5 separate regions of the Homo sapiens genome follow, and all the other regions are linked to region 5. The links are contacts of gene promoters, found by promoter capture Hi-C in blood cells and fetal thymus (Javierre and others, 2016). All regions are on one chromosome and are shown on one strand. The core of a region is centred on a gene start or on the middle of the fragment in contact, and the rest is flanking DNA. Distances in the headings are between cores, read along the strand shown. Region 1 overlaps CRTC3 (CREB regulated transcription coactivator 3). Region 2 has its middle 49 kb from the start of SEMA4B. Region 3 overlaps CRTC3 (CREB regulated transcription coactivator 3). Region 4 overlaps CRTC3 (CREB regulated transcription coactivator 3). Region 5 holds the start of IQGAP1 (IQ motif containing GTPase activating protein 1).

Region 1 (6,284 bases), core at 3,530-6,029, 180 kb after region 5:
TGCTCTGTCGCCCAGGCTGGCGTGCAGTGGCGTGATCTCGGCTCACTGCAACCTCCACCTCCCGGGTTCAAGCCATTCTCCTGCCTCAGCCTCCTGAGTAGCTGGGACTACAGACGTGTGCTACCACGCCCGGCTAATTTTTGTATTTTTAGTAGAGACAGGATTTCACCATGTTGGCCAGGATGGTCTCGATCTCCTGGCCTCAAGTGATCCGCCCGCCTTGGCTTCCCAAAGTGCTGGGATTGCAGGTGTGAGCCACCGCGCCTGTCCTACTATGTATTTTTATTTATTTATCTCTTTTATATTCTGTCTCCTCCAAGCCCCCTGGGAGCAAGGGTGCTTTGGTTCACTGCTGTATTTCCAAAGTCTAGAGCAGTACCTGGCCAGGGTATGAGTTCCATAAATATTTCTTGAATGAATGAATCAAATAGTTGAGTATTAGCACTATTCTGAGAATTTTGTATGTATTATCTCATTGAATTCTTACAGTAACCTTATGTGATGGTACTTTTATGACTCCCATTTTACAGATGAGAAAACTGAGTCTTAAGAGGTTAGGCGACTTGCCCAAAAGGACCTGAGCCACCACACAAGTATTCCACTAGAGCAGCAAGTTAGAATAAACACAGACTTTATTATTATCCAGATTTATGTTCAAGTTGCAGCTCTGTCAATTACTGGTTGAATTAAAACCTCTCTAAACTTTAATATCCTTACTTATGAAATAATTATTCTACCTCCCAGGTTATTGGAAGAATTAGATGAGATCATGGGTGCATTATTTTCATGTATATTTTCCTGATTGCTGGAAAAGTTGAAATTTTTTCATTTTGTGGTTGTTTGTTTGTTTGTTTGTTTTTCGAGGCAAGGTCTCACTCTGTCAGTCAGGCTGGTGTGCAATAGTGTGATCTTGGCTCACTGCAACCTCTGCTTCCCGGGCTCAAGTGATCCTCCCACCTCAGCCCCCCAAGTAGCTGGCACCACCGGCGCATGCCACCACACTCGGCTAATTTTTGTTACCCGGCTCATTTTTATGTTTTTGGTAGAGATGGGGTTTTGCCTTGATGGCCACGTTGGTCTCGAACTCCTGGGTGCAAGTGATCCATCCGCCTTGGCCTCCCAAAGTGTTGGGATTACAGGCGTGAGCCACCATGTCTGGCCTTTTTCATGTATTTACCGGCCATTCTGGTTTCCTCTTCTGTGAATTTCCTGTTCATAACCTTTTCTCAGTTTTTTTTCTTATCAAATTGTAGGAGTTCTTCGAATGTTAGAGATACATGTTGTCTTATATGTTATAAATAGCTTTCCTCATACCATCATTTGTTGTTTGATGATGTTTTTTGGAACCTTCTTTTATTCATCTAGTTAGCGCTCCAGGTTTGGTGGTTGATCAAATACTTGAGAATAGGGATTTATTCATTCAGCTAGTATTTGTTGAGGGCTGGAACTCTGTGGGATGTCCATTCAGTCAGGACACCTCTAAATCCTGACTTCCAGTTTACGTCACTGATGATGGCTCTCATCCTTGGTTCTACCAGATTCTTGAAAGAGAATGTGTTTTCTCAGAGCCAAGTAGACCCAAACATTTCCCAGACTTTGGCCACATAATCAGAAATTTCAAAAGAGTTCTGGAATTTGTGGGCTTAGCTCCAAGTTACCAGGCATCCGTTGTCTTCCCTGTGGGCAGAATTCGCTTTTAGCTTACTCCACCCTCCTCAGCTACGCAGCATGATTGGGGCAGACGATGAATACTTCAGATATCCCCTGTGGGGTTAACTCCAGAGGCAGCCTCAGAAACTAGACACATAATTCATATGGTCAAAACCTGGCAGGCTCTTCTGAAATCGTGTGACTTCCTATCAGGCCACCAGCTCTGCAGATCCTCAAAGGTCTGGCTGTCAGAACAATAGGGAATGAGAGCAGCGCCCAGATGCTGCCTGCTGGAGCTGCAGGTCCTGTTTGAGTCTGAACAATAAAAGTCCTGGAATGAATTACCAAGGCTCCTGATTGCACCCTGCAGGTTCAGGTTTAGTTTGTGGAGATGTCTCACATAAGAACTGTCTTGTAAGCCGCTTGGGGGGTTCAACAAAATTGGTCAACAAAATTTAATACCATACAAGCCCTTTTCTTGATCAAGCAATTTAGTAAGTCTCTGTCATAAGTCTCTATGACCTGCCATCCAATATGTCAAAATAAACAAAATTTTCATGTTGATGGTCACAAGTGCAGTCCCTAGAGTGGGGATCTGGTGACCACTTCCACCACTAACTAGCACTGGATCGTAGACAAGATCGTTAGTCTCTCTGTGTCTCAGCTCACTCATCTGCAAGATGTGGCTACTAATAGTACCTAAGATAGAGCTATTGGGAGGATTAAGTTAGGTAATGCATGTAAATCCTTAGAATAATGCCCAGCACAGTTGTTGTTCAATACATATTGCAAAGTTCCTAGTATAAACTCCCTGTTGCAGCCTTCTAATTTGACTTCAATAGATTGTTGGTACCATTTGCCTCTTTCTTTGCAGGTATCCTACCTAGGCCTAGAGAACTAAGCTTTTGCTGTTCATTATATGAAGCTTCTTAAATGTCATACAGGCTAGTTGCATCCTACTAATTCTTCACAGACTAGATAAAAATACTTTTGCTGAAGTCTTAATCGGCCTGTCCTGAAGTCAACCAGGCTGTATGTTAGTGCCTTGACTCAGTGCAGCTTTCAAGAGAGGCAGAAAGAATACCCACAGAGAAGGCACATGTGGGCGGTGGCAGTGTAGGACCAGGAAAGAAGCTAGGTCTCTATATTCCCTCGCATTTTGAATCTGTGTTAAATTCAATCATATTAGTATGAAGCAATCCTCTTACCTATCTCCTTAATCCAGCCTCTGACTGCCAGCTCACAAAAGAGGGAGAAGAGGCACTACATTTAAAGTAGTGATTATCTCTAACTAGAATTTTAAGTCCCTACATGTTTTGGCTGTAGAACCAGCCAAAGTTTTGTTCCAATTCCCTACAAAATTTCACAATAGTCAGGAGTTAGAATTGGTCCCTATGTTATGAAACAGCTAGTTTTTATACTTTAAACTTAAAATGAAGCTTTAGTTGTTTATTATTACTGTGGATATTTTCCAAGAGACAGAATAACATCTGTGGAAGATTCTACACAGGCCTTGATGCCAGACATTGTAATTATTTCCCTGCTCAAAGGCAATAGTCAGTGCCTCAAGGAACTCCCTGGCTATAAGCAGTTGGCTGCCTCGACAACAGATAGCTAATGTCTTAGCTCTTTTCTGTCTCTACCGCCAGCCTCTTGGGGATGTGACTTGAGAAAGCTCTCCCCTCCCCATTTTCTCCTGTAACCTCTTTGGAGGAAGTCACCAGGGTAACCACTTTCTTTTATGCTAGTTTTCTTGAGTGCAAGGGAAAACACTTCCCCACAGACATATGACAGAAGTTTAAGAGTGGTGAGGAGAAGAACACGAACAGTTACTGAGTACCTGAGCTATGCTTTGTGTACCTGATATCATTGAGTTCCCACATCAACCTTCTGAGATAGGCATTATCATCCCCATTTTACTGATGCTTAAACAGTAACATGCCCAAGGTCACACAAGTGGCAAGTGACAGTCAGGACTCAAACCCAGGTTTATCTTTCTCGGGCCTTTGCTCTTATTTTGCAAATTAAGCAAGTGTAGACACACAAAACCAATTTGTTTTTACCTAGGAAACGTGTTTTATGCTTTGTTTTTCTCAGTCTGGATAGATGCCGTTTTCTAGTCCCCTGGAACCATCGTATGCCCAGTTTAGTACCACTTTTGTTTGGTTTCTCGTCTTAGAATATATTCTGCTTATTCACTCCCCCGGCCACCTGAGAAATCTTTTTACTACTTTTAGTCCAAATCAAACTTTCCTTCCCTTGACTACCTAGGAAGTCTCTCCTTGGGTGAGTCTTAACTCGCCTGAACTGAGAGTCTCACCCTGGAACTTGGTTAAGAAAGGCCAGAGTTGGGAGGCAACAGCCTGGATGGAAGAGGGGGGTCAGTTGACACTGGAGGGGGCAAGCCAGACCAGCCGCAAGCAGGAGCCAAAAGGTCAGAAAGCCAGTGAGAATGGGGTGGGCCAACAGGAGCAGACCAGGCCACACAGGCTGTGACTCCCCCTTGCAGTGGCTGCTGGGCACTGGCCATGCCTGTGCTTGTCTCTCTCAGTATCTCTTACTCTGCCATCTTGTCATTCATGAAATTGCTCAAGAGACGCTTTCTACCAGTCCGTGCCTGCTTAGTCTCCGAGAAGTTTTGGGGGTTCATTTAGAATTAATTAATTTAGAACTAGCATTTAAAAGTTAAACGGGCTGGGCATGATGGCTCATGCTTGTGATCCCAGCACTTTGGGGGACTGAGGCGGGTGGATCACTTGAGGTCAGAAGTTTGAGACCAGCCTGGCAAACATTGAGAAACCCTGTCTCTACTAAAAATACAAAAATTAGCCAGATGGAGTGGTCAATGCCGGTAATCCCAGCTACTCGGGAGGCTGAGGCAGGAGAGTCACTTGAACCGAGGAGGCGGAAGTTGCAGTGAGTAGAGATCACTCCACTGCACTCTAGCCTGGGCAACAGAGTGAGACTCTGTATCAAAAAATAAATAAATAAATAAAATAAAAATAAAAGTTTTAAAACAGCTTATAAACTTGAGTTAAAATATAACTCAAGTGAAGCAGAGAGAAGAATATTAAAGGGGAAACATTTAATGAGGAGCAAAGCATAGCCTTGACCGAGCTTCTGCTAAGAGCGGATGGCTCTCACTTGGCACAGACATCTTTCTGTATTGCACTACTTGCCCTGGCAGAGGCATCAGAACTGTTAGAACCACAATGGACTGTGCAGCACTTTTCATGCAACACTCCCCCTTTAAGGTTAGCCAACCGAGAGCAAGAAAAAATAGGTAATAAGCTCAACATTACTCAGCTAGTAAGTGGCTGGTACAGGAATCAAGTTCTGCTTACTTAGTCTGAAGGTTTTCAGCCACTTCATACCATTTGATCAACATATTTGCCCTTTGTTTTTGAATGAAATAGAAAAAATAATTTCCTTCTTTCCTTCTTTCTTCCCGCCTTCCTTCCTTTTTTTCAAACAAAATTACTGCCATTTATATTAGTGTTTCTACCACTTCTATCATGACCACTGCTGGCAAAAATGTACTGAACTTTTGCTGTGCATCAGGCAATATGGCTAACTAAGGCTTTGCATACATCATTTACTCTTTCTAGTAACCCCAGAGTAGGTACTATTACTGTCTCTATTTACAGGGAAGACTGTGGAGGCCAAGAAGGATTAAACAATTTCCCTGCATCACACAGCCAAAAATGGTAAAGCCAGATTTGAAGTCCAGGCTCTTTGATTCTGGAGTTCATGCTAGTAACTACCAGCTCTCCGTCTGGCAGTGTTTTGTTCTTTTGTTGAATTACTAAAACAGAACTATTTTCTCTGAATGCAGAAGTTGAAACCTGTTGAGGAAATTCAACCAGAGTATTTCTTGAAGAAAAAAGAAACCATTTCCTGATTTCTTTATTTGTTAACCCTATGACATCATTAGGGTTGGTAGTAGCTGCTCCTTTGCCTTCACACACAAGAAAAAAGTGTGCAAATAGTTCTTAGGAACTACTGAAGCTGTTCAGAGGACCAGAAGCTAGACCCTCCTCTATTATTTTCTCTGCCCTACGTCTGGCCTTTTTAGCTTGTGGAACTTATCATCCCCGCCATCCAGTAAAGGCTACAAAGGCCCCGAGACTAGTCCCTGCAGTTACTACTGATGTTCTTTTCTTGCTTCTCATCTGCTTTTACTACCAGTTCTGTCTTGCCCATGGTCAAACCATTATCTCTAAAACTCCACCTTCTAAGCTACCTCTGACCCTTCGAATTTGCCATGGTTAGAAAAATCAGGAAAATAGGAAACCTAACCAGCAAAGAAACATCTGGGAGTGTATTTGTTGTCACTGTAAGCAATGACACATAGATTAAAACAATAAGATACCATAGGCAGGAATGGATAGAGTATGGACTCAAGAGTAAGGCAGCTTGGGTTCAAAGCCTGTCTCTACCCATTACAAGCCTTGTGTTCAACAATTTAACCAACCTTCCTTCCTTCCTTCCTTCCTTCCTTCCTTCCTTCCTTCCTTCCTTCCTTCCTTTCATGGAGTTTCGCTCTTTTTGCCCAGGCTGGAGTGCAATGATGCGATCTTGGCTCACCGCAACCTCTGCCTCCCGGGTTCAAGCGATTCTCCTGCCACAGCCTC
Region 2 (5,799 bases), core at 795-3,294, 240 kb before region 5:
GGTATATGGTGGGCCCCAAGGGGCCACCAAATGGAACGTTCTGCCGTCTGCTCTTTGGAATATTCTTCTGGCCAAGAGCCACCACTTCCCTGACTCCGGCCTTTCTCTTCCCCACTGTCACCAACAGGGGATATAGGCTTTCTATTGGGCACCACTCCTCACTGAGAACTGCTCTCAGGGCTTTCTGAGCCTGTTGGTGTGACTGCGGTGGTGGCAGCTTGCAGGAGAGACACCTCACTCTTTGCTTTGTGGGATCCTCTGCTTGGTCCCTGACTCACAGACTGAAGCTCAAATTCTAGCCACGCACCAAAAAGTGACCGACAGCCGGGCGCGGTGGCTCGTGCCTATAATCCCAGCACTTTGGGAGGCCGAGGCGGGCGTTTCACCATGTTGGCCAGGCTGGTCCCAAACTCCTGACCATTGCATTTGTTTGCAATGTAATTTGCAAACAAATTTGGTAGGCTGCCATAACAAAAGTTCCACAGACTGGGTGGCTTAAACCGTAGACATTTAGCTTCTTACAATTCTAGAGTCCAGAAGTTCACAATCAAGGTGTCTGCAGAGCTGATTTATTCTGAGGTGTCTCTCTTTGGCTTGCAGATGGCCATTTTCTCCTTGTGTCCTCACATTTTTCCCTCTTGCATGTCTGTGTCCTAATCTTCTCTTCCCTTTTATTTTTTTGAGGCAGAGTTTTGCTCTTGTTGCCCAGGCTGGAGTGTAATGGCGTGATCTCGGCGCACTGCAACCTCTGCCTCCCGGGTTCAAGCGATTCTCCTCCCTTAGTCTCCCAAGTAGCTGGGATTACAGGCATGCACCACTACACCCGGCTAATTTTGAATTTTTAATAGAGACGGGGTTTCACCAGGTGGTCAGTCTGGTCTCAACTCCTGATCTCAAGTGATCCGCCCGCCTCAGCCTCCCAAAGTCCTGGGATTACAGGCATGAGCCACCGTGCCTGGCCCTGCCTAATCTTCTCTTCTTATAAGGACAGCCATCCTACTGGATTAGGGCCCACCCTAAGGACCTCATTTTAACTTAATTACCTCTTTAAAGACTTTACCTACAAATACATATGAAGCTAGAACTTCTTGGTGAACATAATTCAGTCCATACCACTATCTTACACTTCTGTGATTACAAAAGCAACATATGCTCCCTGTAGAAAATATGGGAACATCAGAAATGGAAAAACTAAGACAAGAATCTCTGCAAAAATCTTGTTTTTTTGTTTTTATTTATATTTATTTATTTTGATTATTTTTGTTTTGAGACAAGACCTACTCTGCCACCCAGACTGGAGTGCAGTGGCACAGTCACAGCTCATGGAAGCCTTAAGCTCCTGGGCTCAGACAATTCTTTGGCCTCAGCCTCCAAGTACCTGGACTACAGGTGTGCACCACCATGCACCATGCCTAGCTAATTTTTAAAATTTTTTTGTAGAGACAGAGTCTCACTATGTTTCCCAGGCTGGTCTTGAGCTCCTGAGCTCAAGCAAGCCTCACACCTCGGCCTCCCAATGTGCTGGGATTACAAGCATGAGCCACCGCACCTGGCCCTGTTTTTTTTTTTTTTTTTAAGTGTATAAAGTAAAAGTGAAAATATACCCTTCATTCCTCATTTCTACCTTCTTCCCCAAAGAACACTGCTGTGATAGTGAGGGACCTTTTTTGGGTTTGTCCAAACTGCTTCCAGTAACATCCTTGCCCTCCAGCTACACCTGTTCCTGCTGGTGCTCTGGAGAACAGGCCCCTTGTGCCGGGGTTGCTGGTGGATCAAATCTTTGGGCACAGTCACAGGGATTCTGCAGAAGTGGAATTGTTTTGTCAAAGGGTATACAAAATGTTCATAATTAGAGCTCAGATTTAAAAGAATTTTTTTTTTTTTTTTTTTGAGACAGAGTCTCACCGCGCCCGGCCTAAAAGGAAATTTTAAAAGAAGGCATGTAAAGATACAGGAGACCTGGCCAGGCACGGTGGCTCATGTCTGTAATCCCAGCACTTTGGGAGGCTGAGGGGGGTGGATCACAAGGTCAGGAGTTTGAGACCAACCTGGCCAAAATGGCAAAACCCCATCTCTACTAAAAATACAAAAATTAGCCGGGCGTGGTGGTGGACACCTGTAATCCCAGCTACTCCAGAGGCTGAGGCAGGAGAAGCGCTTGAACCCAGGAGGCGGAGGTTGCAGTGAGCCGAGATTGTGCCATTGCACTCCAACCTGGGCGGCAAGAGCAAGACTCTGTCTCAAAAAAAACAAAACAAAAAAAAAAGACACAGGAGCCTGTTAGGATAGCCTCCCTACGGTACTGGTACTGAAATGTTAACCGTGCTTGATCTTAGGTAATGGGGCAGGAAGTTGTTTTTCCTTCCTTTGTCTTGCTACCTAGCTGGATTTTCTACATTTTCTTTCATGAGCTTGTGCTACTTTTTGTAATGGAGGAAATAAACAACTGTAATAGAATGCTGCCAGAGAAGACAATTGAAAGGAACTTTTGGTTCTGTTCAGAAAGGGCAGGCCTGCTGCTAGTAGCTGCAGGGGACAGACAGCGGATGGGGCAGGGGGATTTCTGGCAGAGGCTGAAATGGAAGGTGGGACCTGTGGCCAGTGTGGTGGGGGCGGGGCAGTCTCTGCCTTTCAGACCTGGGAGGGAACTGTGTGCATGAGCTTTGCCAGGGAGGGAGGTAGCTCTTAGCTGGTCCAAGATAGGCCGAAGAGTTTGTAAACAAGTGCCTGGCTACTCAAAAAAAGTTTAGGTCCTTTGGCCCAGACTAGTTCTATCCCAGGCTACTGAGAAACGGGATGCTGAGTCCCTGCCACTGGTCTTTGAAAAACGACAATGGAAGATGCGCTGAAAGATTGGAGAGGGTCAAAACGCCATTCCCTTTCCTGAAAGGAAGGCAACAGAAACTTCAAACATTGGGGCAGAGGGCTAAGCAAGATTAAAGGGTGACTCAGGACCCCGTAGAAAAGGATGTGACAATTCATGGGAGCTGGAATGGGTCATCAACTGCAGCCCCAGACCAACCTCAGCTCGTGATGTGAGGCACAGAGATCCTAGATTCAGCAGGTCTCCTAACAGACTTATTATTGTTTGCAGCCAAGATGGAGAAATATGGAGTAGACACTAGAACGGTCAGGTCAAATGACAGCCCCCAAATCAGTGGACTGATGCCAAGGTGAGGCAGGTCTCTAAGTCCATGTCAAAAGGCTCTGTTCGCCTTGTTGCCCAGGTTGGAGTGCAGTGGCATGGTAACTGATCACTTCAGCCTCAGCCTCTGGGTTCAAGGGATCCTCCCACTTCACCCTCCTGAGTAGCTGGGACTACAGGCACCATCACACCTGACTAATTTTTTTTTTTTTTTGAGAGGGAGTCTCGCTCTGTCCCCCAGGCTGGAGTGCAGTGGCGCAGTCTCGGCTCACTGCAACCTCCGCCTCCCAGGTTCACACCACTCTCCTACCTCAGCCTCTCAAGTAGCTGGGACTACAGGCACCCGCCACCACGCCCAGCTAATTTTTTTGTATTTTTAGTAGAGACGGGGTTTCACCATGTTAGCCAGGATGGTCTTGATCTCCTGATCTCGTGATCCGCCTGCCTCAGCCTCCCAAAGTGCTGGGATTATAGGCGTGAGCCACCATGCCTGGCCACACCTGACTAATTTTTAAATTTTTTTTAGAGATGGAGTCTCACTGTGTGCCCAGGCTGGTCTTGAATGCCTGGGCTCAAATAATTCTCCCACCTTGGCCTGCTAATCCACAGGGATTACAGGCATGTACCATTATGCCTGGTTAGTTTGTTTTTGTTTTTGTTTTTGTTTTTGTTTTTGTTTTGTAGAGACAGGGTCTCGCCATGTTGCCTAGGCCTCAATCTCCTGATCTCAAGTGATCCTCCTGCCTTGGCCCCCCAGAGCGCTGGGATTACAGGTGTGAACTACCCTACCTGGCCCTAGTTGTTCTGTTCAGAAGCCAGATTACAGAATCTAAATGGGTCATCCAGTGACTAGCCAAATCCAAACAGGTACAAGTCCAAAAGCTGAGATCATCGCTGACAGCAGAATCTCTCCCAGAGAATTGGTGATGAGCCATTCCGGAGGCAGTGGGTGGGCAACTGCCCAGGGCTATATTCAGTCCTCGTGGCCATGGGAGGGGGCTGCATCCTGAGTGTTTAAAAGTCCTGATGAAATCCAGATGTAAGGATGAATGATGCTAAGGAGTTGGAACTCGGCATGGTAACATGGCTGCCTTGGGCTTTCTTGACCTGATGTCTTTAGCTATTTGGTCCATCTGATTGTCTTTAGTTGAGTTTCTTATTCACTGAACAGCTTTGTACGTCCTTTGAATATTTCCAAATTGTGTGCCAATTGCATTTTCCACTGTAAATGAATCAACTGGCCTTCTGTTTGTGTTTTGAAAAATTACAAGTAACGACTGGACAGGCCCAACGGAATCCCTCAATCTCCCCCATGCAACATTCCTCACTAATGACCTTCCTGGCCTGAGAGGTGGTTAAAAATAGTGCCATCTGCCCTCAAGCTACACTGCTTCAGGTATTGCGCTTCATAATCCATGCCCTCTATACTGAACCTCGTGGCCAGGACAAGCTTCCAGGGCAGTCACAGTCAGAGTGGACAGCTGTCACCTGTAGTTGGCCACAGCCCTATCAATGAGTAGGGCCTGCACCAACCCTGCTCAAGTGTTCTCTGCAGAGAGTGAGCAGCATACCTGGCTTCGTGAGGTGGGGACCCTTGTGGCTCTGGGCATCCAAAGGACTTGATTTCTCCCTTGGAAGATAGAGGCAGGGGCAGGACCAGGGCATAAGCAGTTATGCTAGTGAGGTGTACTCTGATGCCCCCCGGTACAGTCTGAAGTCTGCAGGAGTTGAAAGACGTGTGCAGGTGGGCCAGGTATCCCTAGCAGTGGTTTCTATTTGTGGCAGCCAAATGGTGAGAGCAAGAAGGTGGAGAGGACCGCGGAACCTTTGCAAAGGCAAACCAGTGAGAGTAAGTGCCAGATGGGCCACAGTGCCTTGGGGGACGTAATGGTTGTATCTCCAGAGATGAGTAGATGCTGACTTCCTATTTAACATCAATCCAGTCCCCCAAATGCCTCCGTCGGTGGGCCTGGCATTCTTCCAGACTCCCTTCAAACCATGTTTCCAGCAAGCACCCTGCCATCAGCCTTACTCCCACGCTGATTACTGGCTCTCAGCGCATGTATGTTTCGTTTACACTGTGCTGCTGTTTTGTAATTGTTTGCAAGTTGTGTCATATGTGTATGTTGTGTCTAAAGTGGATAGAGGCCTCTGAGATCAGGATCTAGTTTTCTCGAATCATCGTCCTCCTCCACAACCACCACCACCACCAATAACTGGCACCGAACACAGGGCATTACGTAATGCGGACAAAAATGCTTGTAAATGAGTTCATGTCACAGACACTCAGAAGTTTGCCCCCACTGTAAACAAACACTGTAGAGGTGAAAGGCTTTGTTTCCAAGGCTCAGGAACATGGAGAGAGGAGCCCTCTACCTTTGCAGTTCATTCAACAGACTAGGGATCTACTTGCCCTCACAGGGCTCTTAGAATAAGGAAAAAAAAGCAGAAGGCATGTTCCGCAACCTCACAGAACATATTCAGCTGGGAAGATTGTTCATGGAGTTGGCAAATCTTTTTTTTTTTTTTTTTTTTTAGACAGATTCTCACTCTGTCGCCCAGGCTGGAGTGCAATGGCACGATCTTGGCTCACTGCAACCTCCGTCTCCTGGGTTCGAGCAAGCAATTCTCCTGTCTCAGCCTCTGGAGTAGCT
Region 3 (5,985 bases), core at 703-3,202, 200 kb after region 5:
TTTGCCTGGCCCTCTGTGATCATTTTGATTGGTCTGATTTTGACTTTACCTGCTAAAAACAAAACAACCCCAAAACTGTTTTATCTCTATCATTTTCTGGAGTCACCTTTTAACTTAGTTTATCTGTTAACTTTACTTCCCTTTTATCTTTCATTTAAAAATACAGACTAGGAAGGGGCAACACAAGGGCCACAGACATGGTGATAGGCCAGGTCCTAAATCAGCAGGTTGGGTGCTGGTGCCTTCTCTGGTCTGTTCTGCTCTTCATCTCTTCTTTTCATGCCTCACAGCAAGACTTATTTGGTCCTTTGGAGAAGATTGGATCCCCAGATCAGCTGGTCAAAAAAGGCATAGCCTCCAGGTTAAAAACAAACAAAAAACCCATCTAGGTGGTTCAAGGGCTCTGAAAGTCTAATCACTTCTGCGAGACTGGAATAGACTAGCCCCAAAGATAGTGTAGTGCTGGCAGGCTGCTGGGGGAAAAGCCTTCCAAAACCCAGAACAGCTGGGAGCCTCACAGGAGTTTTGTGAACTGAAGCCCCTGCCTGCTGGCATACCTAAGCACTGCAGAGGGCAAAGGAAGAGTGTTGGGGGCTGCTGTCAGAGAGGCTGGCTGGGTGCTGGCAGGTCTGACGCTGGAGATTTGTTATACATTTTGAACTTCTCTTGAAGTTTCTCTTTTCTTTTTTTTTTGAATGATGTTATAATAGGGTATTTAACCAAGTATGACATCCTTTTTTATTCCGCTTAGTTTGTAAGGTAGACTTAAATGATCCATTTAACCCCAAGGCAGTGTGAATTAATAGCAGCCCCTTTGTTGTGGACAGGCCTTCACGACTCCCCCACTTGTCATGAGAATCAAAGGAGGTGCTGGCAGTGCCTAGAATGATCTCCAGCTGGGTTCCCAAGAGAGGCACAGTTGTTCCTTTGTTATTTAGACTTGTCCTTTTTAAAAGAGGGGGGCTATAACATCTTCCATTAGCTTCAGTCTGCATATAAATAAAGAGCCCTGCAAGCTTCAGGAACCTGCCTTACTTCCTAAACTTGATAAATTTCCACTCTTCACCAACGCTTTTTTTTTTTTTTTTTGAGATGGAGTTTCTTTCCTGTTGCCCAGGCTGGAGTGCAGTGGCACGATCTCAGCTCCCTACACCCTCCACCTCCTGGATTCAAACAATTCTCCTGCCTCAGCCTCCCCAGTAGCTGGGATTACAGGCATGTACCACCATGCTTGGCTAATCTTGTATTTTTAGTAGACATGGGGTTTCACCATGTTGGTCAGGCTGGTCTCGAACTCCTGACCTCAGGTGATCCTCCCGCCTCAGCCTCCCAAAGTACTGGGATTATAGGCATGAGCCACCGTGCCCGGCCCCCAGCAGAATTTTTAAAAAAGAGTTGTGGTCTCATTATGTCGTCCAGGGTGGACACCAACAGAAATTTATTTAGTACTGGTGGCCAATCTGTCGCACATTTGTCAAGAACTAAAGAAGTAAACTAAAGAAGAACCAAGCAGCATCATGGGCAAGCTGGAGGCCCAGTAGAGCTAAGTGATGAGTTTAAGGATGCCGTTAGAGCCAAGCATTAACGGCAGATAGGGTAGATAGACACTACCCTATCTAGTGTCTCTACTACCAGCTACGTTTCCAACCAGTCTCCTCTCCTACCCAAGCTCTGTTGGAAACAGATACAAACCCAAGTATACAGAGGAATTAAGAAGGGTTGGGGTAGCATTTTAATTCTATCAGAGGAAGCATTATCGTCAATGAATAGCTTTGTGACTTTTAGCTAACCGTTTACATAAATATTAAGTTAGATACTTACTCCAAATGAGACTACTGGAGCCAACGTCAATTTGTAGGTGTGCCGTTTGTATTGCATCATAGTCAGGTGTCTTAGCAAGACTGTTAACCTGTAATTGAATCTTAAATCTTCAGTGGATTTAGAAGAATGTAATACAATTTATCTGGAGAATTTCTTTTTCATTTTTCTTTTTTGAAACAACAAGGTCTCGCTCTGTGCCCCAGGCTGGAGTGCGGTGGTATGATCATAGCTCACTGCAGCCTCCACCTCCTGTGCTCAAGGGATCTTCCCACCTCAGCCTCCCAAGTAGCTGGGACTACAGGTGTGTGCCACTGTGGCTAGCTAGTTTTTAAATTCTTAGCAGAGACAAGGTCTGGCTATGCTGCCCAGGCTGGTCTCGAACTCCTGGGCTCAAGCAGTCCTCCCACCATGAGCTCCCAAAGTACTGGGATTACAGGCATGAGCCATGGTGCCCAGTCTGGAAAATTCCTTAATATTTTTTTTTTTAACTTCTGTATATATCAGTACAAATCTGTGTAAAATCTCAAAAAGAATTGATTTTATGTAGGCTATATAGCAAAGGAGGCAAAGCGGTGAGGTAAAGAGAATACTGAATGAGGCTCGGGATCCTGAGTTTTAGTTTTTAGGCTGCTACAAACTAGCTCTGCAATCTTGAGAAAAATCACTTCAGCTCTCTGTACCTTGGTTTCCCATCTGTAGAAGGAAAGAGCAGAATTCCACTCCCTCTTGCTTTTACTTGTGTTGCTTTCTCTGCTAAGCCAGCAACTCCAGTTCCCTTCCTTTGCCTATCCCCACCTTATTTTCACCTACTGCAAGCTGGAAAATGAGATGCCTCAGTTTGTTAGACCTGGGTGGGGTGTGATGCAGAACTGGAGGGGTTCCTTTCTAACTGCTGTCCTCTGGGGTTCTTATCCATTTTTGTTATTTAGGGGCTTTCTTTGCTTTCTGGCTCACCACTGAGATGGTTGAAATTGCCACATAAATGACCCCTGGCTCAAGCTAGCACATTGTCCTCATAGCATAAAATAATGGTGACATCACATTCCGGTGCAGTCCTCTGTAATATTGAAGCTTCATGCAAGTACCCATTCCCAGTGTTGACGATGGTATTCCAGGAAAATATGTGTTGCTCTTGCAGGAGTTTTATCACTTTTTTTCTTGATCACGAGTCATCATGAGGTCTGTCATTGAAGCTACTAAGAGTTGTCTTATGTAGAATTGCTTCTGTTTGAGAATATCGATTAGGCACCCCTTTGTACAGATGCTGAGGTTGTGGTATTCTGGATCAATACTTTTTCAAAGTATTAACCATTTATATGCTTAATCCTGGTTTTCTGCATGTTTTTAATATATTTTTTAAAACTTGGTAGAACTTCTTTTTTTTTTTTTTTTTTTTTTGAGATGGAGTCTCGCTTTGTCGTCCAGGCTGGAATGCAGTGGCACAATCTCAGCTCACTGCAACCTCTGCCCCCTGGGTTCGAGCAATTCTTCTGCCTTAGCCTCCCGGTAGCTGGGACTACGGACTCTCACTACCATGCCCAGCTAATTTTTGTGTTTTTAGTAGAGACGGGGTTTCTGTTGGCCATGGCTGGTCTTGAACTCCTGACCTCATGATCACCCACCTTGGCCTCCCAAAGTGCTGGGATTATAGGTGTGAGCCACCGTGCCTGGCCCTGTAGAACTTCTTACATGGAAGGATGTATTTGGTCATACCATTAGCATTTAGAAACCCATATTTCACTTCAAGGTATTTGGAAATTACATTTCTCCTGTTTTTAATAACTGTATAAAAATACAACTATAAGCTAGGATTTATTTTGCTACTTAGCTGCAGAAGAAAAATGTATGTCTTGATTGTTCACACATAAAGAATATACTGTACCATATATGCTTTTGATAATGATAATCTTCCTAGTTGATAATAAACAACAACTCTCCAATTCTTGGACTTCAGCTCATTTCCTAACTTAGCGTGGGCTTATGTAGGAATCTGCTTATGGTTTACCAGTCAAGTAAGATCTGGGGTTTCTAATTAACCACAAACATAATGATATGCCAACAGTACAGTACATCTACCCAAACAGTTAATGCAAATGTAGGTCACATTGATAGATCAATAGTGTCTAAATTAGAGGAAGTAATTTCCCCCCTAGGTGACGAAATCTAGTTGCAACTTTTCAGCCATTCATCCCAGGCTGCAGCTTTCAGATGCTATGTGATAGGTAGGTGTGCACCTACACGTAACTGATATCTCATCTAACTGAGCTCTAGGTCCCTTGGGGAAGTACTCCGGGAGTATGGTACTGTCTGCCGTTAGCTCTAAACTTCTACCTGGAAATCCACAACTCTGCTTCTTTTGGAAGATTCACACGTCCTGTTTCATTACAGAAAGAGTTCTGCCGTTAGCATTAGCCATGTCACTCCCCTCCCCGGTCTATCTAGCACTGGATCCCAGACACTGATGTGGAGAACCATTTCTGTATGGAGGCACAGAAGCCTTCTCTTCCTCATTTGATGTCTAGGTCCCATGTTCTGAAACAGTAGAGTGCTTTTCAGATCCTGAGCCTAAGGCCCTCCTTAAAACACATAGAGTCCTATTTACAGGTTCGTTTCTTTCTTGCTTGCTTTCTGTATTTATTTACTAGAGACAAGGTCTCCCCTCTGTCACCCAGTCTGGAGTGTAGTGGCAGGATCTCAGTTCACTGCAACCTCTGCCTCCCAGGCTCAAGTGATCCTCCTGCCTCAGCCTCCCAAGTAGCTGGGACTACAAGCGTGAACCACCACACCTGACAAATTTTTGTATTTTTTGTAAAGATGGGGTTTTGCCATATTGCCAAGGCTGGTCTCAAACTTGTGAGCTCAAATGATCCACCCACATCAGCCTCCCAAAGTGCTGGGATTACAGGCCTGAGCCACTATGCCTGGCTCCCATTTGCAGATTCTTTTGACTTACACCTCCCTTGTTCTTCAAGAAAATGGGGCCAGGCACAATGGCTCATGCCTGTGATCCCAGCACTTTGGGAGGCCGAGGGGGGTGGATCACTTGAGGCCAGGAGATCGAGATCAGCCTGGGCAACATGGCAAAACCATCTCTACTAAACATAAAAATAAAAAAATTAAAAAATTAGCCAGGCATGGTAGCACATGCCTGTAATCCTAGCTACTCAAGAGGCTGAGGCAGGAGAATTGCTCGAACTTGGGAGGCAGAGGTTACAGTGAGCTGAGATCACGCCACTGCACTGCAGCCTGGGTGACAGAGTGCGACTCTGTCTCAAAAAAAAAAAAAAGTAAGAAAAATGGGACTCTCTATTTCATTCAGTCTCTCTCTGTCATCACTACCATATTAGCCAGCTTTGCTTTAGTAACAATCCAAAAACTCAGACTCTCAACAAACATTTATTTTTCACTCATATTACTTGTCCGTGGTGCTGGAATACCTTCTACGTCTCTCCTCTGTGTATCTTCTCCATCTGCAACTGAGGCTGAAGGAGCATCCCCTACTTAAGACATGATAGTCTCATGGCAGAAGGAAAAGAGTATGAGAGTTTCTGTTTGAACAATATGAACATCACATTTGCTCATAAGCCATTGGCCAAAGCAAGTCACATGGGCCAGTCAACTTTTTTTAGCCATTCATCCCAGGCTGCAGCTGGGTGACGTCAGAGGTGACTTGGAATGGCAACAGATGGTGCCTGAGCTGTAGGACCGTTGGGGAGCACCGTGGGAGGCTCAGAATGCTGGGGCAGTCCCTAATAGTGATGCTGCTGCTCCTGACCACGAAAGGACTCTGCAGGTCAGCCCCACCTTTGACAAGATGCTTCCCAGGGTTCCACCATGCAGACACTCATCCTCCTTTCCAATGTCCGGGTATCCCTGGGACAAGCAGCTCTTATGTATGTAACATCATTTTGTCTTCTCAACAAGCCTGTGGAAGTTATTATCATTTCCACTTTTTAGATAAGGAAGATGAAGTAACTTGTTAATAAGTGGAACATCTGAACTTGAACTGTTTCTTTGACTCCGAATCATATGTGTTTTTGGGGTTTTGTTGTTGTCGTCGTCGTTATTTTTATTTTTATTTTTTTTCTGAGACAGAGTCTTACTCTGTCACCCAGGCTGGAGTGCAGTGGCGCGATCTCAGCTCACTGCAACCTCCGCCTCCCG
Region 4 (6,043 bases), core at 2,026-4,525, 240 kb after region 5:
CTCCCACCTGATCACCCATGGATCTTTCTTCTCAGTCAGAAAGCCCATCTGCTGTCACGTTGAGGGCTCTGAGGTCTCAATTTTATTTTTCTAGTCCTTGATCTTTAACCCTATAAACAGTTCCATACTTCCAGCCATCTAAGACAAAATTCAGGCTGGGCGCAGTGGCTCATGCCTGTAATCGCAGCACTTTGGGAGGCTGAGGCAGGCCGATCACTTGAGGTCAGGAGTTCAAGACCAGCCTGGCCAACATGGCGAAACCCTGTCTCTACTAAAAATACAAAAATTTGCTGGGTATGGTAGTACATGCCTGTAATCCCAGCTACTCGGGAGGCTGAGGCAGGAGAATTGTTTGAACCCGGGAGGCAGAGGTTGCAGTGAGCCAAGATCGCACCACTGCACTCCAGCCTGGGCGACAGAGCAAGACTCTGTCTCAAAAAAACACAAAATAAAATAAAAAGACAAAATTTATATTCAGTTTTTCTACAACCAAAATGAGCCTTCTTCCTCACCCTCCGGTTGGACACCTCTCCTGCTGCCTCATTTCTTTCCAAAACTCCACAGTTCGCCCAGTCCTACTTTTACCAAGAAAAGTGAGGCGAGGCTGGCAGGAGTGAGTGCTCAGCTCTCTTCTGCCACTGATTCCCCCGTCACCACCCTTCTCTGGTCCTAGGGACACCGAGGTCCCTCCTAGTCAGGCCGGCCACTTTACCACTCCCTGGCCCTCCTCCCGCTGGATTTGTGGAGGCCTTTCTCTGCTAGTTAACTGTCCCTCATCTCCAGAATTCTCCGCCATGCTTTCTGAAAGCATATTTACTCTCAGGTGTTCCTTCCTGCTTACCCATCATCAGCCCACCATGCCCTGGCTGCCACCTCTGCTGTTCAGTGGAACCTTGAGAATGTCGGTTGCCTCCTGTACGTAACTGAGAGAGAAATATCCCTGCTGCATGTCTTCCTAGTGAGCAGAAACTCAAAGCCAAAATAGAATTCGTGATCTCATCCATACCCCTGCCCTCATTCCCAATCTGCTCACATCTTCAGTGTCCCCTGTCTCAGTGAGGGGCTCCACCAGTCCCCAGGCTAAAGGCCCCAGAGTTGTTCTTGAGTCCTACTTCCCTGTCTCTAGAGTCTAGCCTGCCTCTCCCTCCCTGCGCTCGTGGCCTCCTGCTGGAGCGTTCAGCAGAGTCATAGCGGCCTCTCCACCTCCAGGCCTGCTCCGTGCACCCCAAGACCCCTTCCCCAAGTCTGTTAGCCACGCTGTCCTAAGAAAAGCTGATACCTCTCCCCCACCACACTGCCCACCCCGCGTCCAGCCTTCCACTGGCGTCGTGTCAGCCTCTCATCAGTCCCAGCCTCGGGTGCTCTCTACCTGCTTTTCCACTTCCATCTCCCACCACTAACCAGCCCTCCTAAACTCAACCTCCCGTGGTCTGAATCCTCACAGTTCTGAGGGCACACCATGTGGTCTCACACCTCCCTGCTTTTGCGCATGCTGTGAGCTTTGCCTGAAATCTTTTTCCTGACTAGATCACCTGAGTTCTTTAGCCTTTAAACTAAGCTCAGATGTCCTCCAAGGAAGCCTCCCCAGGTCAGCTGGGCTTCCCTCCACATGGCCTCCCTCCAGGCTCTATCACTGCACTACTGAATTGTATTATGTTGCCGGTTATGCTCCTTATGGCTCAGTCTCTTGAAGCCCTGATGCCAGTGGCTGGCCCCTGGGAGGTGCTCTGCTGATGTGTGCAGGAGGGAATGAAGTGTCCTCAGGATTCGTGACTTCCCTCTGCTCCTGGCTGGTGGCACCTTCTCCCGCATTCTCCTCCGCGTCACCCTCACTGCTCTTTTCCTATATCACCCCTGGACCACTGCAGGTGGTCCTTCTAATTGGTTCTCCCTGCCTCTCCTTCTGCCTGCTGAGGCCATCCTCCACACTGGAACCACAGTGACATTTCTGAAACGCCATTCTCCAGCTTAACCTGGCCTCCCTCTTTCCACAGTCCCTGATCCAGACTCCTGAGAACAGCACATTCTCTCCCGCCTGCCTCTCCCTCCCCATGTGCCACCCTCCCTCCTCACCCTCTGCCCTGACACCTGACACCTCAGCCATGCCCAGCTACTCTTAATTCCACGCACACACTGTGTCACATCCATGGCAAACCCGTCCCCTCCACAGCCCATCCTGACATGGACAACTCCTGCTTTTTTGCTCCCGGTGTCACTTATATGCACTGGTTACACACACCCCTTCTCAAACCCAGCATAGCGCGCTTCCTGCCACGTTGCAGTTACTTGCTTTCCCAGGCTGTCTCTCCTGCCCATCTGTGAATTCCAAAACAAGGTCCTCTCAGACCTGGCTAGCAGGCCCCTCCCTGGGGCCCCGCCCTTGAGAGGGCTTCATTCCCAAAGGGAACGTACCACCAGTGTATACGCACTAGGCCTGGGGGGTGGCTAGAGAGTCAGCAGGGTGTGGACAGAGTTTGGCTGCATAGGCTGGGATAGCTATGTGCGTACTGCAGTACAGAACAGAACTAGGGGGAAGAGAAGGGGACGTGGACTGAGGGCCAGGCTGTCTCCCTGTGCATTCTGGCACAGAACTCCAAGAAGTCTGAGAATTCTACATGTAAATCTGGCTTCACAGGCTATTATGAAGGTATAATATGTCAGGATAGACACATAGAACAAAGTTCATGTAAGGGTTTGTTCATTTGATTTATAACTTTTAAAAATGGAAACAGATGGTATGCGGGCCTTCTTTTATACTCTTGCTCCAGGCCTGTACATTTCAGGAGTAGGCCTGACCCCGGCGGACACACTCGCCCTGCTTGTTCATCATGGTGCCGCCAACATGCGGCCCGCTGCCTGGCACACAGTGCCTAGCCCATAGATTGTGATGAATGAATGGCAACATCTCTTTGTCACTTTAAAGTTTATGAAGACTGTAATTTTAAAAATATATCTTGGAAGGTATATTGGAAGGTAGCTAGTTACTCAGAGATACTTTTTCTGGTAGCAAAGATAACTTAAAAATCTAGCAAAAAGAACTACATAAATAGCAGTGCCTCACATTTTATAGAGTGGTTTATAATTTTCAGAATACTTTTGCATCCATAATCTAATCTGGTCTTGATTATTCTAGACCCTAATCTAGTATTCCTGTAATGTGGGCACAGGTAGTGGGTGAGGATATGTGTTTCGGAGAGGTTAAGCCGAGCACCAGTGTTCTCAGAATCAGAGAGGCCGCACCAGGACCTCGGTCTTTTGTAGCCACTGCTCTTATTTGACAAGGAAAAGGTTTCAGCCATGTTTGGTTTCCCAACAGCCAAATACATTGTAGAAAGTCATTCTTAATCTTTCTTTTTTCAGTGCTTTTCCACATAATGGTCAAAACCTAGGCCTCTCACCCTTCTTGGGGACCTTGAACACTGGAGGGTCATTGCCAGATCTAACCAACCTCCACTACTCGACACCCCTGCCAGCCTCCCTGGACACCACCGACCACCACTTTGGCAGTATGAGTGTGGGGAATAGTGTGAACAACATCCCAGCTGCTATGACCCACCTGGGTATAAGAAGCTCCTCTGGTGAGTATCTCCTGCTTAGCAGTGACCTGGTGGCTTAATCATAGGTGGTCCCCACCCATGTGGCCTGTTCAGTGAATCATTGAATGAGAATGACTGCATCCCAGTTAGAGATGATAATGTACCTTCTTGTATCTCCTGACCCTGCGGACATTTTTCTTGGATGTTTCTGTTTCTCCTGGGTTGATGAATTTGGGGCAGCTCTGCTGAACCTCATTCCTTATCATCCTCACTCGCTGCTCTATCCAGGGACTTGGGGAATAAGATATGGGAGCCAAGAAATAAGCATCCACTCCGTGTTGGCTGAACAGTATTAGTGGCTGTCATCAACATATGATAATTTATAATTTAGGCCATCTCTCTGGATTCCTTTCATTTTCCATTAGATTTCTAAAGGCAATATTCTGCATTTTAGAAAATTTACAGTGGATATGATGAAAATATTTATACTTAATATCTGTGTGTGAAGTAGAAATCCCCCACAGTTCCAGTTAAAGATGTAGCATTAGCTATATAAAGATGCTACCCATAATGGGACTTGGGTGTTACTCTCTGGGTTTGATTGTCCACAGCTCAGACCCCATATTGAAATTATGACTACATTTGTTTGAAGCCTGACACTTTTTTTTTTTTTTTTTTGAGATGGGGTCTTACTCTGTCACCTAGGCTAGAGTGCAGTGGCACGATCTCAGCTCGCTGCAACCTCTGCTTCCCAGGTTCAAGCAATTCTTCTGCCTCAGCCTCCAGGGTAGCTGGGATTACAGGCATGTGCCACGATGCCGAGCTAATCGTTTTTGTATTTTTAGTAGAGACAGGGTTTCACCATGTTGGCCAGGCTGGTCTCGAACTCCTGACCTCAAGTGATCCACCCGCCTTGGCCTCCCAAAGTGCTGGGATTACAGGCGTGAGCCACCACTGACATACCCTTGTCAATGTCTAGGGCAGGTGATAATCCTCTTACTCCCAGTGGTGCAGTACAGCCCCTGGCCGTAACAGTCCTACCCAGAATTGTGTTGTGGAGCATTTCATTTGGAAGGGATGCTCAGTGATGGTCTCCAGGTGAAAGCAGTGTTTGCTGCCTTTCACTCTGAGACTCATCCATGCAAATCAGAACTCACCACCCAAATGAGAGTGGTCCCCTTCAGGGGGGGTCACCTGGAAGTTTTTCTAATGATTGCAGTGATGCTGCCTGGTGCAACACAATCTTAGGTTTGAAGAATTGATTTCAGAGAACACCTTTATTTTTGTTTTTTGGGTCATTTTAGTATCCTTAATAGTAGCAGGTTTTTCATCGACTGAGTCTCAGTTTTGATATTTATACATTTGCTTCATAGGAGAAATTTGATATTTGCTTCACAGGAGAAACTCTCGAAACCTTTATGCCCAGATTCAGAGTCTGGGCAATTCACCTTTTGGGTGAATCCTCAATGTATGAAGATATCTAGGGTCCCAGAAGTAAAGCAGCATCAGCACATAGCTCCTTTGGGTCTCAGGGAAGCTGGCATTTTCCAGTACAGCCTTTGACACTTTGCTTCAAGCTGAAGATCTTATGTTTAGTCACTGGTTGTCTTCTCAAAAAAGCACTATTTTATCCAGAACATGTCAGAACCAATGTCAGTTTCTGTATTTTCTTTTTTTTTTTTCTTTTTGAGACAGACTCTTGCTGTGTCGCCCAGGCTGGAGTGCAGTGGCGCCATCTCGGCTCACTGCAAGCTCTGCCTCCTAGGTTCACGCCATTCTCCTGCCTCAGCCTCCCCAGTAGCTGGGACTACAGGCACCTGCCACCACGCCCGGCTAATTTTTTTAGTAGAGACGGGGTTTCACCTTGTTAGCCAGGATGGTCTTGATCTCCTGACCTCATGATCCACCCGCCTCGGCCTCCCAAAGTGCCGGGATTACAGGCGTGAGCCACGCCCAGCCGGCAAAATTATTTTTAAGAATTTTAGGCTGGGTGCGGTGGCTCACTCCTGTAATCCCGGCACTTTGGGAGGCCGAGGCGAGTGGATCACGAGGTCAGGAGATCGAGACCATCCTGGCTAACACGGTGAAACCCCATCTCTACTAAAATTACAAAAAATTAACCAGGCGTGGCGGCACATGCCTGTAGTCCCAGCTACTTGGGAGGCTGAGGCAGGAGAATGGCGTGAACCCGGGAGACGGAGCTTGCAGTGAGCTGAGATCATGTCACTGCACTCCAGCCTGGGTGACAGAGCGAGACTCTGTCTCAAAAAAAATAATAATAATAATAGTGATAATAATAATTTTGCCAGCTGCTGGATTTTTGTCATTTCTTCCTTTTCGTAACTTTTATCAAACACTTAAATTTTTTGTCAACACGAAACAACACATAGTTCTGCTTACCCCACCTGCTGGTACAAGAAAGATGGGCTGAAGGTTAAAACGTAGGTATTGCCAGTTGAGATACACACAGCAGCAGCAGCCGAATAATTGATTCACTGGGCGAACCT
Region 5 (5,612 bases), core at 1,063-3,562:
ATGTACTCCACCAGGATCAACTAGGCCACGCCCCACAACAACCCAGTGCCCCTCCGAGATGATGGGAACATGCTGGACATGCCCAGCCACCCCCAAGGCCCAAGCATGGAGTGGTTGAAGAAACTGCAAGCACTTCCATTGACATGGAGAAGACCATGTCCCCTGTGGCCCCCAATAAAAATGTGACCCCCCCGCCTCCGAAATAAATAAATCATTCAGTTTCTGAAAAGTGTTTGGTAAAATGTGCTAGACTTATAAATAGAATAATACAATTTGTAAAGTGAACTTAAAAGCTTAAGAATGAAATAACTTTTTACTTTGTAGGCTTAATAAATGAAACCCTTGCCCACTTTTCTACAGGGGTGTTTTGTTCTTACAGGTTTTCAAGTATCTTTAATAGTCTGAAGGAAGAGTGAATACATTGAAAATAGCTGGAGCAAAACATCTGGAGTCAGGCTATGATTTGGCATGCTAAATCATGCTGAACTTGGCCCATTATCTTGAAGGGAGGAATAGAAAAAAAAATTTAAAAAGAGAAACACAATTGCATTTGCACTTTAGAGAGAACACCCTGATAACTGTGAGGATCTAGTTGGCAGAAGGGCGACTACAGTGTAATCACAACAGGGATGGAGACAAAAGTAGACATCTCAGAAATAAACACAGATTGGATGTAGGGTGCGAGGCAAGGAGCCTGGGGTGTTCCCACTGGGAATTGAGTACTTCTGTGAATAGAGAATATAGCAGGAGCAGGGTCAGTATTTGACACGTGGGATTTGAAGTGTCTGCCCTATACACAGGTGAAAGTGTTCATTAGCTGAAAATACTGAGGGACTTCCAGACGATCTGGTCTGGTGATACATATCGAGGGGTCCTCAGCAGTTATAGGCGAGTGTAGAAAAGATTACTGAGTAGGCAAAGAATAAACGGAAGAGGGCCGGGCGCGGTGGCTCACACCTGTAATCTCAGCACTTTGGGAAGCAGAAGCGGGTGGATTACCTGAGGTCAGGAGTTCGAGACCAGCCTGATCAACATGGTGAAACCCTGCCTCTACTAAAAATACAAAAAAAGTAGTTGGGCGTGGTGGCGGGCACCTATAATCCCAGCTACTTGGGAGGCTGAGGCGGGAGAGTCGCTTGAACCCGGGAGGCGGAGGTTGCAGTGAGCCGAGATCGCGCCACTGCACTCCAGCCTGAACGACTGAGCAAAACTCCGTCTCAAAAAAAAAAAAAAAAAAAAAATGCCGGGCGCGGTGGCTCACGCCTGTAATCCCAGCACTGTGGGAGGCCGAGGCGGGTGGATCACGAGGTCAGGAGATCGAGACCATCCTGGCTAACACGGTGAAACCCCGTCTCTACTAAAAATACAAAAACTTAGCCGGGCGCGGTGGCGGGTGCCTGTAGACTCAGCTACTCGGGAGGCTGAGGCAGGAGAATGGCGCGAACCCGGGAGGCGGAGCTTGCAGTGAGCCCGGATCGCGCCACTGCACTCCAGCCTGGGCGACAGAGCGAGACTCCGTCTCAAAAAAAAAAGAAAATAAAAAAAAAGAAAGAAAGAAAAGAAAAAAGAATAAACAGAAGAGGGCTGCGGACAGAATACCGTTGAATACCAATATCTGAAGGGCAAGCCACAAGGTGCAGGGGGCAGAGGCATCCCTGATACGGGAAAAGAGTTATTTTAAAAAGAACTTGCAAAGAACAATGTCAAGGGATCCAAAGGTAGGGAATTTGGACAGAGTTCGGCTTTAGCATCCGCATCTCAAATACCTGGGTACCTGGGTAATCTGGTGACTGCTGCCGAATCTAAGAGGACTGAGGCCAGGTTGCCAAACTGCGGAGAGTGGGGTTGGAGGGCTTTCATGGCAGTTTGGGGCCTGCTTGTGTCCAACAAGACAACCTGGGTCACCTCAAAGGGTGTCTTCTCCAAATATTGGTGCAGAGGTTAGCTGGGCCGGCAAGAGAAGGGAGATGACCCACTATTTTGATTTCAGGCAGCAGACACCGGCAGCCTTTCGGTTAGAGTTGCGGATAGGGCAGTGGCCTTGGGGGCGGGGCTATAAACCTGGGCGGGCATTCCCGGCAGGGCAAGCTCAGCGTGAGCCCGATTGGAGGATGGGCTCTACCTTCTTCCTTCCGCCTACGGAGACCATAGCGGGATGCAGGGCGGGGCCGGGCTGAGGGGGCGGAGTTAGGGGCGGGGCACGGTGACTCTGGCCCCGCCTCTTTCCGGCCGCTCAGGGCGGTGTCGCTGGGGCGGTGCCGCTGGGGCGGGGCCTGCGGGGTGGGGCTGACGGCACGGGGCGGGGCCTCGGGGACCCCGGCAAGCCCGCGCACTTGGCAGGAGCTGTAGCTACCGCCGTCCGCGCCTCCAAGGTTTCACGGCTTCCTCAGCAGAGACTCGGGCTCGTCCGCCATGTCCGCCGCAGACGAGGTTGACGGGCTGGGCGTGGCCCGGCCGCACTATGGCTGTGAGTGCGGGGCTCCGCGGCGCGGGGGCTTCGGGCTGGGCTAATTGCAGACGAGGCGCGATTTTCCTGGGGGCTCGGCCGGGCGGGTGGGGCAGGGCGGCTGCCGGCAGCTCGGACCCGGAAGAGCCGTCCCGGTGGGGCGGCGGGCGGCGGGCGGGGAGGCCCCTGGTTCGCGCCCCCTCGGGGTCCGAGGCGGCGGAGAGGACCCCCGAGGCCTCCCGCCTTAGCTGGGGCCGCGGTAGGGGGAGCCCCACCCAGCGCCTCTCGCCGCCCAGGCTCGGCCGAGATTGGGGAAGACGGCCTAGAGTGAGGTGGCAGGATGACCGCGCAGGGCGTGTCCCGGGGATTGGGGGTCTGGGTACGCGGGCTCTGCCCGTTTCGTGGAAAGGCGCTGCCCTAGTGTTGCCTGCGGGGTAGACCCAAGGGATAGACCAGGGTCCAGACCTGTCCGGTCCCAGGCTAGCTACGAGGTGCCGTCCTGGGCAAGTCACTTCAGTTTTCTCGGGCTTAGTTCCCTCCTCAAGATTTCAAAAGTAAAATAGTAATAAAGAAAAAAAAAAGAAGCAGAAAATCCTCTGACTTCCTCATTTTCTGTTGTCGGCCCTGGACGTCATTGAACTGCAGGCAGGATTGGCTAAAGGAGGACCCTTTGGGATTTTGAGGTTTTCGGTTTTATTTTATATTGTGGGAATAATGTTCTTTTTTAAAGGATCAACATTTCACGCATCAACAGTTATACGTGAGGTATTGTGCCACGTTTGTGAAATTAAAGATGAGTAAGATCAGGCCCTGTCTCCAAAGAGCGTTTTAATCAGAGAGTCAGGTGTGCAAGCTAATGATTATAAGGTGCAATAATGATAAAAGATGCTGAACTTACTAGCCATACAGAGTAATGTAGGTAAGGAGAAGGGGCCTGGGGAAGACAGTATGAGCACGGGAGGTGACTTTTTTTTTTTTTTTTTTGGAGACAGGGGGTCTTGCTCTGGTCGCCCAGCCTGGAGTTCAGTGGTGCAATCTCAGCTCACTGCAAACTCCACCTCCCAGGTTCAAGCGATTCTCCTGCAGTCTCCCGAGTACAGGCGTCGGCCACCACACTGGCTAATTTTTGTATTTTTAGTAGAGACAGGGTTTCACTGTGTTGGTCAGGCTGGTCTCAAACTCCTGATCTCAAATGATCCCCACGCCTCGACCTCCCAAAGTGTGAGCCACTGCACCTGGCCTGAAGGTGACATTTGAACAGAGCCTTGAAGAATGCTGTGTAGAAAGTTTGACAGGTGGCCAGGCATAGTGACTCCTGCGTGTAATCCCAGCACTTTGGGAGTCCGAGGTGAGAGGATAGTTTGAGGCCTTGAGTTTGAGACCAGCCTGGGCAGCACAGTGAGACTCCATCTCTTAAAAAAAAAAAAAAAAATTAGCCAGGCGTGGTGGCCCATGCCTGTGGTCCCAGCTGCTTGGGGCTGAGGTAGGAGGATCATTTGAGCCCAGAAAGTCGAGGCTGCAGTAAGCCATGATTGTGCCACTGCACTCGAGCCGGAGTGACAGAACAAGACCCTGTCTCAAAAAAAAAAAAAAAAAAGTTTGATAGGGCATGTGGAACAAGAGACAGGACCTGAGGGAAGAGCATAAACAAAGGTATTGAAAGTAGAGGGATACTGTGTTGGGAACTGAGTGATGTAGACTGCACAGTGGTGGGAGGAAGGGAAGAGGAGAGTTTCCAAAAATAGTTGGGACCAGACTGGGAAAGGCCTTGAATGCCTTCCCAAGGAGTTAGGAATTTATTCCACACCTGGTGCCCATGAAGGAAGCAGATTGCTTCAAGGTTAAGCTCAGGCTTTGGAGACAGACTCTCCAGGTTTGGATTCAGGCCCTGTCACTTATTTGCCATGGGGCTGAGTTCACCCAGCCTCAGTTTCTTCGTCTGTAAAATAGGAGTGATAATCACAGGATTGTTGTGGGGTTTCAATGAGAGAATGCGTGTAAAATGCTTCGTACAATTACTGCCACTTATGTCTCAATAACTGCTGGCTTTGGTCATTAATAAAAGAGGGAAACAATATTATCAGATCTGTATTTAGAAGGAGTTCTGGCAGATAGGGACAGATTTGTGCCAAAATCTCAAGACAGTATTTTTCAAGATTACACTGAAACTTAGTACATATTTATATTATCATACATTTTTAAAAAGGTCAAGATGATTATAGTTGAAACCACATAGTTCTTTTTTTAAGAAAGTCATTGTAGTACACCTGGCTGGCTACACACTCATTAGTTATCCTGACTTTCTAGGTGAGTGGCAGGAAATTGATTCTGTGGCAATCTTTTATCACTCAGGAAGGCTACAGATCCTGGTGTTTACATTCTTTCTTTTATGTTGTAGCTGTCCTGGATAATGAAAGACTTACTGCAGAGGAGATGGATGAAAGGAGACGTCAGAACGTGGCTTATGAGTACCTTTGTCATTTGGAAGAAGCGAAGAGGTAAAGATTGGCTGGCTGGAGAGAAGATTAAGAGAAGGGAACTGATAATAGTGTGAATACAAATAAAGATTGCTTTGAGGCTGAACACAGTGGTCCATGCCTGTAATCCCAACACGTTGGGAGGCCGAGGTGGGGGGGAATCACTTGAACCCAGCTGTTTGAGACCAGATTGGGCAACATAGTGACACCCCATCTCTACAAAAAAATTTTAAAAATTAGCCAGGCATGGTGGTGCATGCCAGTAGTCCTAGCTACTCGGGAGCCTGAGGAGGGAGGATCACTTGAGTCCGGGAGGTCGAGGCAGCAGTGAGCCGTGCTCTCACCACTGTGCTCTAGCCTGGGTGACAAAACTCCTGTTTTTGGTGGGGGGAAAAAAAAGAAAAGATTTATTTGAGTATGTTATAGATGTAACTGGGAAGCTGGTGGTTGAGGGAATAAGTATAGGTAGGGTATTTATTTATGGCAATAAGTAGCCTTGATGAGAGTTTATCATGAATCACTGTGATGGGCATTTAAGTGTACTGAACGGTTTTCCAGGTTTCTATTGTTCAGTCTTATGCTTATTGTGCATGTTTTGGGCGTTACCAACTGTGGGGTGGAAATAGCATTTTTAGGATTTGAAGTTATTGGCTTTAATGTTTCACTTATGCTTCATGAATTTTGATTTA

Evidence for each region. The method cuts DNA at HindIII sites, captures the fragments that hold promoters and counts their contacts. A CHiCAGO score of 5 or more calls a contact.
Region 1: a contact is called between a fragment that was not itself captured here and the fragment with the promoter of IQGAP1 in region 5, in 1 of 17 cell types (total B cells). The highest score is 6.3, in total B cells.
Region 2: a fragment that was not itself captured here is called in contact with the fragment with the promoter of IQGAP1 in region 5 in 2 of 17 cell types (total B cells and naive B cells); the score reaches 6.3 in total B cells.
Region 3: a fragment that was not itself captured here is called in contact with the fragment with the promoter of IQGAP1 in region 5 in 2 of 17 cell types (total B cells and monocytes); the score reaches 5.4 in total B cells.
Region 4: a contact is called between a fragment that was not itself captured here and the fragment with the promoter of IQGAP1 in region 5, in 2 of 17 cell types (activated CD4 T cells and total B cells). The highest score is 6.1, in activated CD4 T cells.

The regions. Positions count from the first base shown.
Region 1 is chr15:90,558,782-90,565,065 of GRCh38, forward strand. All of the region lies in intron 2 of CRTC3 (CREB regulated transcription coactivator 3), which reads left to right. Among named protein-coding and RNA genes, the nearest start is that of CRTC3, 32 kb to the left of the region's middle. RefSeq lists an enhancer at 4,100-4,600 and a silencer at 4,872-5,001. The HindIII fragment of the contact is 3,385 bases long and covers 3,088-6,284 here.
Region 2 is chr15:90,149,839-90,155,637 of GRCh38, forward strand. No RefSeq gene overlaps it. Among named protein-coding and RNA genes, the nearest start is that of SEMA4B, 49 kb to the right of the region's middle. The HindIII fragment of the contact is 5,097 bases long and covers 1-4,593 here.
Region 3 is chr15:90,583,166-90,589,150 of GRCh38, forward strand. All of the region lies in intron 2 of CRTC3 (CREB regulated transcription coactivator 3), which reads left to right. Among named protein-coding and RNA genes, the nearest start is that of CRTC3, 56 kb to the left of the region's middle. RefSeq lists enhancers at 160-671, 672-1,183. The HindIII fragment of the contact is 1,876 bases long and covers 1,015-2,890 here.
Region 4 is chr15:90,622,416-90,628,458 of GRCh38, forward strand. CRTC3 (CREB regulated transcription coactivator 3) reads left to right here. Exons shown (of 15, transcript NM_022769.5): 10 at 3,361-3,578. All of the region lies in intron 3 of CRTC3-AS1 (CRTC3 antisense RNA 1), which reads right to left. Among named protein-coding and RNA genes, the nearest start is that of LINC01585, 35 kb to the right of the region's middle. The HindIII fragment of the contact is 9,195 bases long and covers 1-6,043 here.
Region 5 is chr15:90,385,930-90,391,541 of GRCh38, forward strand. IQGAP1 (IQ motif containing GTPase activating protein 1) reads left to right here and starts at 2,313. Exons shown (of 38, transcript NM_003870.4): 1 at 2,313-2,467; 2 at 4,845-4,944. The coding sequence starts at 2,413. It also overlaps the pseudogene NDUFA3P4. RefSeq lists a silencer at 2,037-2,816. The HindIII fragment of the contact is 8,546 bases long and covers 292-5,612 here.